Regions from separate parts of the Homo sapiens genome. Here all the other regions are linked to region 3. Evidence: promoter capture Hi-C in 16 types of primary human blood cells and fetal thymus (Javierre and others, 2016). All regions are on one chromosome and are shown on one strand. The core of a region is centred on a gene start or on the middle of the fragment in contact, and the rest is flanking DNA. Distances in the headings are between cores, read along the strand shown. Region 1 overlaps TSHR (thyroid stimulating hormone receptor). Region 2 overlaps CEP128 (centrosomal protein 128). Region 3 holds the start of SEL1L (SEL1L adaptor subunit of SYVN1 ubiquitin ligase). Region 4 overlaps TSHR (thyroid stimulating hormone receptor).

The links. Contacts are between HindIII fragments. The CHiCAGO score rates a contact against its expected background, and 5 or more counts as called.
Region 1: a fragment that was not itself captured here is called in contact with the fragment with the promoter of SEL1L in region 3 in 2 of 17 cell types (total CD8 T cells and total CD4 T cells); the score reaches 7.0 in total CD8 T cells.
Region 2: a fragment that was not itself captured here is called in contact with the fragment with the promoter of SEL1L in region 3 in 1 of 17 cell types (naive CD8 T cells); the score reaches 6.1 in naive CD8 T cells.
Region 4: a contact is called between a fragment that was not itself captured here and the fragment with the promoter of SEL1L in region 3, in 1 of 17 cell types (total CD4 T cells). The highest score is 6.8, in total CD4 T cells.

What each region holds. Positions count from the first base shown.
Region 1 is chr14:80,969,498-80,972,422 of GRCh38, forward strand. The region is part of intron 1 of TSHR (thyroid stimulating hormone receptor); the gene reads left to right. Among named protein-coding and RNA genes, the nearest start is that of TSHR, 15 kb to the left of the region's middle. The HindIII fragment of the contact is 4,350 bases long and covers 1-2,925 here.
Region 2 is chr14:80,923,106-80,925,805 of GRCh38, forward strand. The region is part of intron 2 of CEP128 (centrosomal protein 128); the gene reads right to left. Among named protein-coding and RNA genes, the nearest start is that of CEP128, 17 kb to the right of the region's middle. The HindIII fragment of the contact is 1,107 bases long and covers 891-1,997 here.
Region 3 is chr14:81,532,453-81,535,152 of GRCh38, forward strand. It overlaps SEL1L (SEL1L adaptor subunit of SYVN1 ubiquitin ligase), which reads right to left and starts at 1,401. Exons shown (of 21, transcript NM_005065.6): 1 at 1,223-1,401. The coding sequence starts at 1,292. RefSeq lists an enhancer at 1,189-1,688 and a silencer at 1,405-1,524. The HindIII fragment of the contact is 11,079 bases long and covers 1-2,700 here.
Region 4 is chr14:80,988,345-80,991,130 of GRCh38, forward strand. The region is part of intron 1 of TSHR (thyroid stimulating hormone receptor); the gene reads left to right. Among named protein-coding and RNA genes, the nearest start is that of TSHR, 34 kb to the left of the region's middle. The HindIII fragment of the contact is 1,832 bases long and covers 356-2,187 here.

The DNA of each region.
Region 1 (2,925 bases), core at 77-2,576, 560 kb before region 3:
CCAAATGACTGGCTGTTCTCTTTAAAGAAATGTGCCTTACCAAGGGTGCAGCAATGGGCTATACTGCTGAAAGGTTGGTCATTTACAGGAGAAGTATCTTGATTAGACTTGATGAAAAGGAGCCCAAGCCATTGGGTCCATGCTTGGCTTCCATTCCTGTCACCATGACCACTTCATTCATGTTCATTTCTCCAAAACTGGATGGCATTTATAAAATGAGTCATCTAGTCTACCTGGGTGTTGAGATTCACCGCAAACCAGAGTAATCAGTGGATACTCTCTGATGAGCATTAACGTGAGACACAAAGGTCCACAGAATTTGTTCCCACCCCCATAGATATAGCCATATTTGTTTCCTAGACTTTCTTGTTCTCTGTTTTCCAATAGTATTCTTTCTAGGCCAGTGGTCAACCAGGTAAATTACTTGCTACTTCTTGGTATTCCATGTATACCCTTGCCACGGTTCTTTCTCCCTTCATACAAAAAGAATGATTGCTATAATGCTCACAGATGAACTGACTGTGAAGATTTCCCTTCACCACTATCCTTTAGGGCCACCCTTGAGTGGGGCTGTAATGCAGCAGTAGTTCATTTTTTTTGGCTGGCATTAGCTTGTGCCAATCTGTAAAGCAGACACCAACCTATGAACTCCATCAAGTGGTCATATGGAGCTCTCCATGAAGCCAATTTCAGTGAGAGTGCAGCAGAAATAAGTGAAGTGGGAGTCTAGGCCACCTATTCATGAATTTACCTTCCCTTTCTAGACTTTCTTGATCCAGAATGTAAAATTTCTATCATAAAATCAATTGCTGCTGTGCTCACCTTATTTTATGTAGTAGAACTGGCAATACCCAATTCACAATGGGCAGCTGTAGTCACAGAGTCACTTAGTGTCCCATTGAAGAGATCTCAGTCTCTACTAGGGCAGAATAGCATGTCAGGAATTATTTTCCTCATAAAGGGTATTTCTGTCCTTCAGAAGGCAGATCCTTGCTCCAAAACTTTAAGAGCCTGAGCTTTCATTCTCTTCTTGGGACCTGCTGGCGAGTCCACAGAATATCCTTGTCCAGGATGGATATCTGTAGTGTTGTAAGACCTGCTGGGCTGGGCTGTATGGCCCACATGGCAGGGAAGCTGGCATTTCAGCCTGAATCTGTTATAGACTCTTGTAGGTCCTACCTGAAACTGGCAGCCTTCTGAGTTATCTGATAAATGGGAAAATGGGTTACACTGCTGCCAAAAGCCAAGACGCCCAGCAAGTGCTGTACTTCTTTGTAAAAGGTAGAAAGGGCAAGATACAACTGTATGTCCTATACCTTAGAAGGGATTTTTTTGTGAGACAGGGTCTCACTCTGTCACCCAGACTGCAGTGCAGCAGTAGTTCATTTTTTGGCTGGCATTAGCTTGGCTTGTGGCAACCTCTGCCTCCAAGGCCCAAGCAATTACCCTGCCTCAGCCTCCCAAGTAGCTGGGATTACAGGCACATGCCACTACTGCCCGGCTAATTTTTGTATTTTTAGTAGAGACGGGTGGCCAGGTTGGTCTTGAACTCCTGACCTCAAATGACCCACCCACCTCGGCCTCCCAAAGTGCTGGGATTACAAGCGTGAGCCACCATACCTGGCCAGAAGGGATTTTTTAGAATGCCGCAGACTAAGCATGTTGCTAATGGAAGAGGTCCCTGAATCTTTGTGGGATTTATCTGCTGCCCCCAACCTTCAGATTTCTTACTAGACTAGCTAGGCTTCTTTCTACTTTTTGCCCACCAACTCTAATTAGCATATCATCAGGTAGCAGACCAGTATGATGATGTGCGTGATGTCCAGATTATCCGTCCCCACAAACTCTTATGAAATGGAACCCCTTGGGCAAAGCAGTGAATTGGTATTGCTATTGTTCCTAGATAAAGGTTTACTACTTTTGATTCTCTCTATTGATAGGAATCAAGAAGAGAACACATTCACCAGATTGATAATCACATATAAAGTGCTACAGGCTGTGCTGATGTGTTCCAGTGAAGACATATCTGGCACAGCAGCTATGATAGAACCTACCTATTGGTTAAGTTTGTTAAAGTGCATTGTCATTCACCTTAATCTATTTGTTTGGGGTTTTTGTTGGTTTTGTTTCTTACAGGGGGCAGATAGGTGAATTGAAAGGATATGAAGCACCACCATTCTGCATCCTTTAAGTCTTTCAAGTTGACACTAATATCTGCAATTTATCCTTGGACATACTCCTGTCAGTATAAGCTCAAACCTTGTATCCAATGATCTTCAAGAAGCCTTGGATTTCTGTTTACCAGTTGACAGTTACTTTGGCAACTGGCCACAGGTCCCTTTTAGGAATGATTGGGGGACAGTCACCAATAATACTTGTAGTGGTATACACTTTCCCTACACTTCCCTAGGGGGATCCAGCAACACTTTTAATCAATGAATTCCTGGTTCCTGAGACATTAAAGTTTTAAAATATGTGCCTCTTAAGATGATGAAATATAGTAACTTGATGTGGTTACTATACACAGTACTAGAGGGAAGAATTTTCCATAACACAAATGTTTAGATTTAAATTCATGCCTTGAAGCCAGATAAATGAAGTATAAGCTATAATTACAAAACACCTAGTTCTTCAGTGTTTGGATTTATGAAAATTGCCATGATTGTTATCTATTGTGAGTTATTAATCCAAGTTACTTTTATTACATTTTAACAGTTTTAGCTATAACATAAATTCCATGGGTTTTCGTTTTTGTTTTTTGTACTACCTTAAAAAAACCTATCATTGTTCTGTGGGGTTTTTTTTGCTCAGTTATGTGTTTGTATCAGCTTTATGCCCAGACCCATACTATATGTCTTCACATATAATATCTCAGTGTTCACAGTGGTCTTCCTTGGGAGGTGTTTGACTCTCATTTAGATGCAA
Region 2 (2,700 bases), core at 194-2,693, 610 kb before region 3:
TCACAATTCTTAGAATAGCTTATTTAGCTGCTCCCAACAAATCAGTATTTAAAGGCATAAATATTGTTGCTTCTGTCTTAATGAACCTTATAAAGAAGAAATACAGCCACCAGAGCAAATAACAAATCCTCATCAATTCACTCCCACTGAGGATCTATCCATCTGAAACAAATGCCCATATGCAAACTTGAATACTCCAACTAGAGAGAGTAAAACTGAATTCAACCTTTGTAATAAGAGGATTGGCAATGAGCCTTTACAAACTCAAGTCCACCTCTTTTGTTATTTGACCTAAAGAGCCATCAGATTGTCTTCATTATAATGATGCACATTTGTATGTATGAGAGCTGTAATTTATTGATTCTCAAACCTCTTTTCCTCTGAGCCAGTTTAAAACAATTAGGATTTGCAAGCTGTTCCATAAAAGATAAGCACCCAGCATCAGGGGTGATATTTCACAAAGACTGACTAGTGCATGTTAAGTAGGTGATTGCTTCTGTGGCCTCCAAGTGCCTCAGCTGTCCCTGCCCAAGGTAATCATCCTCAAAGAAGATGCTCAAGGTAATTGTGTTGATACTTAGGGGGGTAAGGGAAAATTGGGAGTGTACTTTACACTTAATCATTAACAAAATTCAAATTTTATGTATTTCTCACTGTTTCTGATATGGTTAGGCTTTGCGTCCCCACACAAATCTCATCTTAAATTGTAATCCCCATAATCCCCATGCATTTAGTGAGAGACCTGATGGGAGGTGACAGGATCATGGAGGCAGTTTCCTCCATGCTGTTCTCATGATAGTGAGTTCTCACAAGATCTGATGGTTTTATAAGGGGCTCTTCCCTCTTCGCTCCTCACTCTTCTCTCTCCTGCCACCATATGAGAAGGTCCAAGCTTGCTTCCCCTTCACCTTCCACCATGATTGTAAGTTTCCTGAGGTCTCCCCAGTCATGCGGAACTGTGAGTCAATTAAACCTCTTTGTTTATAAATTACCCAATCTCATGTCATATCTTTATAGCAGTATGAAAATGAACTAAGAGTTTCAATAGCTGTAGGACTTGAGAGCTTTGCCTTATCCTTCTAGTGAAAAAGTTAATAAGCCAGGAGACATTACCATGCAGAAACAATTAACAATTGTACCTGTCTTCTTTACATCAGTGCTCTTCTGTAACTTCATCTCCTCAAAGTCTTTTGGTAAATTTATAAAAGATCAAAATCAACTGTCCAGTCCACCAGTCAGTTCTGTTATGTTAGTGAACATAATACATTAGGAAACAGAATCAGATACTTAAATTGATTTTTCATCATTTAATGAGTTGTCACTACATTAGAAATGAAAGATGAAAGTAAATAAATAAGTCATAGTCTTGATGGGAGAGAAGGACATTTAAGTGTATTATAAACGGTGAGCTAAGTAATACAACAAAATCCTTGGGGAGTCAGGTTAGGATTTTTCCACTCATCTTGAAGGATGCACATAAGTTTGACAGGTGGATGAGACAAGGAAATAGGATCCACTTAAAACCTGTCTAGAGAAAAGTAGACAGGATCCAAATAAGCTGAGCTCTTGCATCCTTCTACCAGGGAAGTTCTGCCCTCGTCTGATTTTCATTCTATGGTTTCATGGGGGTTTTTTTTAATGATTCTACTATTTTCAAAAGAAAATAAAAACATTTGAAAGCCACTACTATAACTAAAGAAAAAAAACTGAAGGATCCTGAGTGGGGAGTGACATGGTAATAAGCACATCAACAGTAGAACAGCTGGGAGGCTGTTGCAATCATTAGGTAATGAATGGTGAGCACCTAAGACAATGGCAGTGGAGATGAAGTATAGCAGGGATGAATTAACTCTGATGGCAAGGTAAAAGAGTAAAAGATGAATCACAAGTTTCTGGTTTTGGTAGCTGGATGGATCCTGAACTATTAAACTGAGCAAAGAAATCAATGAAAAGAAAGAGCTTTTAGGAGAACATATGTTCTAAATTGAACTTGTCTAAGCTTCAATTAGAAAGAGAGGATCAATTTGTGTTTCATGGGAGGAAATATCAAACTAAAGATGTCTAATATGCAACCGGATATGTGAGTCTAAGGAAATATTTGATAGTCATCAGTATAGGGGTGGATAAGACCACCAAGAAAAAAAATGCACAGTGAGAAAAGAAGTAGAACCAAAGAAAACCCCGCAAGAACTCCAACATACAAAAGGCAGACAGAGGAGGTGGCCAATGAGATTGAGAAGAAACATGAGAAGTAGGTGAAAAACTAGGGGAAATTGTACAACAGAAGTTATGAAAAGAAGGGTTTCAAAAAAGTGAGAAAAAAACTGTTAGAATTTCCCAGTAATCAATGAATTGCCTTTCAACTCCAAATCCATCCTTCATTGTCTGCTCTTTGCAAACAGAGCTGAGGCCTTTAAATATTTCTCCTTTGTAGCTAGTGTGATGTTAAACTTTGTCATAGAAAGTGTTGGAAGGGTTTTTTGTTTTTTTGGTTTTTTTTTTCTCCAAGATAGTGGAATGGAGGCATTATTGGCATGCCTCTCCCACTGGGATAAACAAAATAGTGTGTAGAAAGTCATGCTATGAACTTTCTTCCAAGAAGCAACACAGGAACTTAAAAAACACTGAAAGAAACCACAAACCCTTTGAAAGAAGCAGTGGGCAGTAGTCTACATGATAAACCAGGAGGAAAACTGGGAG
Region 3 (2,700 bases), core at 151-2,650:
GAGAGTTAAGTATAGTCTAAAGATCTGGTCATTAACTCAAACCATCACTACTACTGGAGGGAGGGGAGTGGACCTGAAAGAATGATGTTGGCAGTAAAGTAATTAGCATAGGGTTGGTGCTTTTGAAATGGTATCTCAAACCACATCATGGATAGAATTTAGGTTTAAGCCTCTTATTTTAGAAGCAGAATGACGTTATGGCATTGATTTACAACTAGGACAGGTAATTTGGGGATTCAGATAACCATCTGGGAAATTTTCTGTTAAAAAAAAGCTGACATTTATTAAAAAAAGAAAAAGCTGACATTTATACTCCGTGTTGTCCCCCCAAAACGTCAAGCCACAGAACACCTGTCCTGTTAACTGAAACTGATTAAAATTCCAAAGTTTTACTGTACTAATTTTTATTTATCAACACTTAGAAACACGAAGTTTTCATGAACACTCTCAAAATGGAAATTTTCAAATGTAGGCAGATTAAAACATTAAAAAAGGGGGAAAAAAGCAGAACCAGAATAAACATTAGCTAACTGGAAAATCAATTCAAAAGCACACAAATTTCTGTATCTATATAAAACGCATCTTATAAGAACCAAGATTTTCCCAAACATCATAAAATGACTGTCAACAAACATGGGGCAACTCAGAAACACTGTGACAGGTCACCGCTTTCTCAGGAAGGTTTCAAAAAAGTAAAAAGTGGCTACGATGAGATCAAAAGTCTTCGTTTTTAAACAGACAGACCAGGGACCATCTCAGGTGTTAAGCAAACTACTGTCAACATCCTGGTCTGGATGGATCCTCCTCTGCCCCAAAGTGACAGCTCCAGGTTTGTCAATTATTTAACTTACAATTCCCAAGCCCAGAGTTCTAGACCAGACCCTTCCTCTACCCCAGGGTCGAGGAAGCTCCACTCGGGCTCCTGTATCAGGATTCATTCCTTTGGAGTCAATTCCGCGTTCGTGAGAAGAGTCGCGCAAAGTTTGTTACGTGGGAGAGAGGTGTGGGCAGGGTGACCGCCCCTTCTTTTTCCACCCCACTCCACCTTCCTAAATAGCCCCTTTGGCGCAGGCCAAGCAAAGCCAAAGAGCGAGTGACAGCCCAGTGCGAGATGTGCCCAGGGAGAACGGGGTCCCGAGCCTGGAGTCCCCACGGCCCCGCCGGCTGTAGAGGCTGGGGGGCGGAGGCTCTGGGCCTTCAGCCCGAGGGGGCGGATACTGACCCGAGGACGCCGAGGCCAAGCTCAGCAGCACCGCACACAGCAGCAGCGTCAGCCCTATCCGGACCCGCATCCTCCTCTCGGGGCCGGTGCCAACCCCTAGAGCTGTCGCCTTCGCCTCTGCCACCACGGACTCAGCCACCACCGCCGCCTCGCCGCTGCTCTTCCTGCTCTAGTCTCCTTCCTCCGCCCCTTCCCAGGCTTCCCTGACCCAGCGCGCAGCCAATCCCCGCCCGCCGTCGCGGGCTTCTGGTCCAATCACCATGGTCTCCCCGCCCACCCCCATTGCTCCGCCCCGGGGGTCATTCATTGGCCAATCATTGTACGAAGCTCCCACACCAGCTTTCTCGGTTGGACCACGACTCACGGACATGGCCCCAGCTAATTGGTAGCCCCTGGGTTCAACCGGAATCAGCGCGTGAGTCCAAGACTGGGAGAAAGAGGCTCATCCGAGACTACAATTCCCAGAATGCGCTTCATGTGATTAACTCGGGGGGTGCTCTTGGGAAACGTAGTCCATCGTAGGGCAAGATTTACAAGTGCGGGTGACTGTTGAAGTTAGAATTTAACTAACACCTGGGCTAAATATTAACTCAAGGCTATGGATTCACAAGCCTTTTTAAATTGACCCAAAATAAATATTAAGGAATAATTTTAAGAACTTGTAATGTGTTTAGCATCTTTTCCTGTTTTATTTAAAAAATTTAAATTGGGCATAGTGATAAGAGCACTGAGAAAAATGCCACAGCTAGTTGAATTTGAGGTGTTTTTTAAAACTTAGATAAAACAGTACCGTGAAGTACGGAAACCAGGGTGCAACTCAGTACCTGTCCTCCTTTCTCCGACAAAACAAAAGGAAATAAATCCGCTCGGCACAGATTATCTCAATACAGTATTTATTTTCACTAGGTTCACCAGACAATAATCATAAAGAAAATGTGCCAACAGCTTTGAAAAATTATTTTAAACACTTGTCCTCATCCTTCTCCTCTTGTGAGTTGCATTGTTCTCTTCTTTCCTAACTAAAGTCAGGAGACCAGGTTCACGTGTGTGGAGGTAGAGGTGATAGTGATTGCATCGCAGGCACGGAAATACTCTATGTAATAAGCACGAAATCCAGGCATGTTCCAACTGAGTAGCAGAGCAGTGACTTGGTGTGCCTGCCCTTTCTTTTCTCAAACCGTGTCATTCTGCTTTCCCTGTCATCCACCCACAGTCAGCTCTAAGGCCTAGAACCTAGTCCAGCCAAGTGAAGGACTTTGGAAAAGTCTCTGCTGGCCATGTGTCTTAACACTTCTGGGCATTTGTCTTCCTTCCTTTTTTTTTTTGTTTTTTGTTTTTTGTTTTTTGAGATACAGCCTTTTATTTTCAGGAAGATGGTAAAAAACCAACCACTGTTTCTCATTCACATCGGAGGAGATGAAGGAAAGAATTATCTCCTCCAAAAACTTGTCTTTTCAGCTACATCACCATTTCTGTCA
Region 4 (2,786 bases), core at 22-2,521, 540 kb before region 3:
GCAGAAGGTGAAGGGGAAGTAGGTGTGGAGGAAGGGGGTGGGGAAGTGCCACACACTTTTAAATGACCAGATCTCATGAGAGCTCACTCACTATCATGAGAACAGCACGGCAGGGGAGATCTACCCACCATGATCTAATCACCTCCCACCAGGCCCCACCTCCAACATTGAGGATTACAATTTGACCTGAGATTTGGACAGGGACACAGATCCAAACCATATCACTTCCCCTTAGTTTCCTTACATTTCCTCTCCTAAGGCAATCCTTGTTAACAGTTTCTTAAGGATCCATGTAGGCACAAATTCCATATTCTAAAGACATGTCTCAACTGATTTGGATGCATTTGGTCCACTAAGCTTGAGGAGCCTCTGATTTAATTCACCCCTCTCATCTTCCTTGAAATTCTTTCATCCTTCAACATCCTTTATGCTGATTGTCGAACATCTCTGATAGTTTGATTCTGTCTTCTTGGTCCACACCTCCTACTTTTTCTGACTGTTTAATGTGGGCATTCCCCCAAACTACTCCCCTTGATCTTCTTTTCTGTCTATATTTTCTTTCTTGACACATCTCTCCAGACCTATGAGTCACTCACAGAATATACTCATATCACTTGCGCCAACATCTCAAGCTAGCCACACACCAGTATTTTTTCTACCAGTTAGACATTTCTGTCTAGTTGTCTGGGAGCACCTCAAATTCAGCACCCAAAATGAACTTACCTTTCTGTTAACAAAACTACTTATGCTTCTCTTTTCCCCATTGTCCTTACTTCTGTTATCATTGACTCTTCCTCTGCCTCTTTTATGTTAATTGCACCTTGAAATGACCCACACTTCTTTTCCCTCCACTTCAGTTTCGTTTGTTACAGCATTTTTTACACTAGCTTCACTTGTGGTTACCACTTCCCTGCCCACTGCTCATAAGCCCCTTGAGGATTCTTCAGGGCAGCAACTATATTTTCTTTATTTCTATGTTCTCGGCACCTCACTCATTCTCTCATAGTAGGTGTTCCATGGATATGTTGGGTCAATGAATATCCGTTAAAGCTCAAATTTTTAACATGGCAGTCGACATCTTCCATTTCTGATTTACCAACCTCTTTAATTTAGATAACTTAATTTACGCCTTGCCACAACCAAACTGAACTATTCACAGCTCTCCTGAATGCACATTGCAATCTTCCTTTTGCACTTCTTTGTTTATGCTTTTCTTTCTGCTTGAAATTCCCATCTGTTCCCTGCCTATCAAAATCCTACAAATCCTTCAAGTCTCAGATCAAATGCCTTATTCTTCCCAAAGCCTTCCCAAATCCTTAAGTCCTGGGTTCCCACAGCGTGTGGATTGCATTTTAGTCTCACTTCTATTCGACTAAATTTATAAAATCATCGGATTTTAGTTGTGGAAGACACTTTAGAGGTTTGGATTTTAGTTGTGGAAGACACTTTAGAGGTTACCTAAGACAACCCTGTATTTTACAGCTAAGGGAACTGAGACCCAGAAAGAGTAAATGTCTTGCTCAAGATTAAATATCAGCCAGCGACCAACGGAGCCAGACCTAGAACCCAACTCTCCTGAATTGTTTTCCAGAGCTATGCTGCCTATGCAATTGTTTTAGCTTCTCTTCCGGACCATTAGTGCCAAAAGTCAAGGATTAAATTTTATTCAGCTTTAATTCCTTATAATATCCAATATAGCACCTTTCATATAGTAGGTTCACAAAAGCTATACTGGATTGAAATGAACATTTAACGTACTGGTTAATAGATATTTTTAGCCAGAGTTCCCTGGAAAACAGAGTGTGAGGCAGAGATTACTTGCTGATGTGAGAGTAAGGAGAAAGAAAAGGCAGGAAGGGCTAAGGGACAATGCAGTGACTACTGCTTCCCAGCGAACCTGGAAACCCAGCAGGGAATGTGGCAAGTGGTCTGTACATCCAAGCAAGGTATCTGTGGCCAGGCTGTATGGACCTATGCCTTGGGGCAGCTCATAATAAGCAACTTACTGTCCCCATATCGTCTCATATCTTTTTTCCCACCGATCAAAGTTACTCCCCTGCACTTCCAGTTCTGTCATCTGGCCCCTTTGATGGCTCTTTGGAAAGCCAGATTCCATGCCCTGCGGGAAGGTTCCTCGGTTGAGTCCAGAGTGGAAGAGGATGCAAATAAGATATGTCCAATAAAAAAAGCTTTGAACCTACACCTGTTACTTAACCCTGTTACTTGAGATTGTTCCTATTTTGGTTTTTGAAATCCATTGATGTTGGAAACACAAAACTGGTGATGGCTTTCTTTAAGAGACAGGCTGAAACAGAATTTTTTTTTTTTACACGGAGTTTCGCTCTTGTTGCCCAGGCTGGAGCGCAATGGCACAGTCTCGGCTTACCGCAACCTCCGCCTCCTGGGTTCAAGCGATTCTCCTGCCTCAGCCTTCCCAGTAGCTGGGATTACAGGTGCCCACCACCACTCCTGGCTAATTTTTATATCGTTAGTAGAGACGGGGTTTCACCATGTTGGCCAGGCTGGTCTCGAACTCCTGACCTCAGGTGATCCACCCACCTCGGCCTCACAAAATGCTGAGATTACAGGCATGAGCCACTGCGCCTGGCTGAAACAGATAATTTTTAAATGTTTTGTGCAAGTTAACAGTGACATTCATGAAGAGAATGATTAAAGTACAGCTTGAATAAGTTCTGATTTTTCTCTCTTAAGAATTATGTGCAAATCCATATGTGACTTTTAAAAATCATCAGATTTCAATGTTTTCTCATATGATGTTATGATTC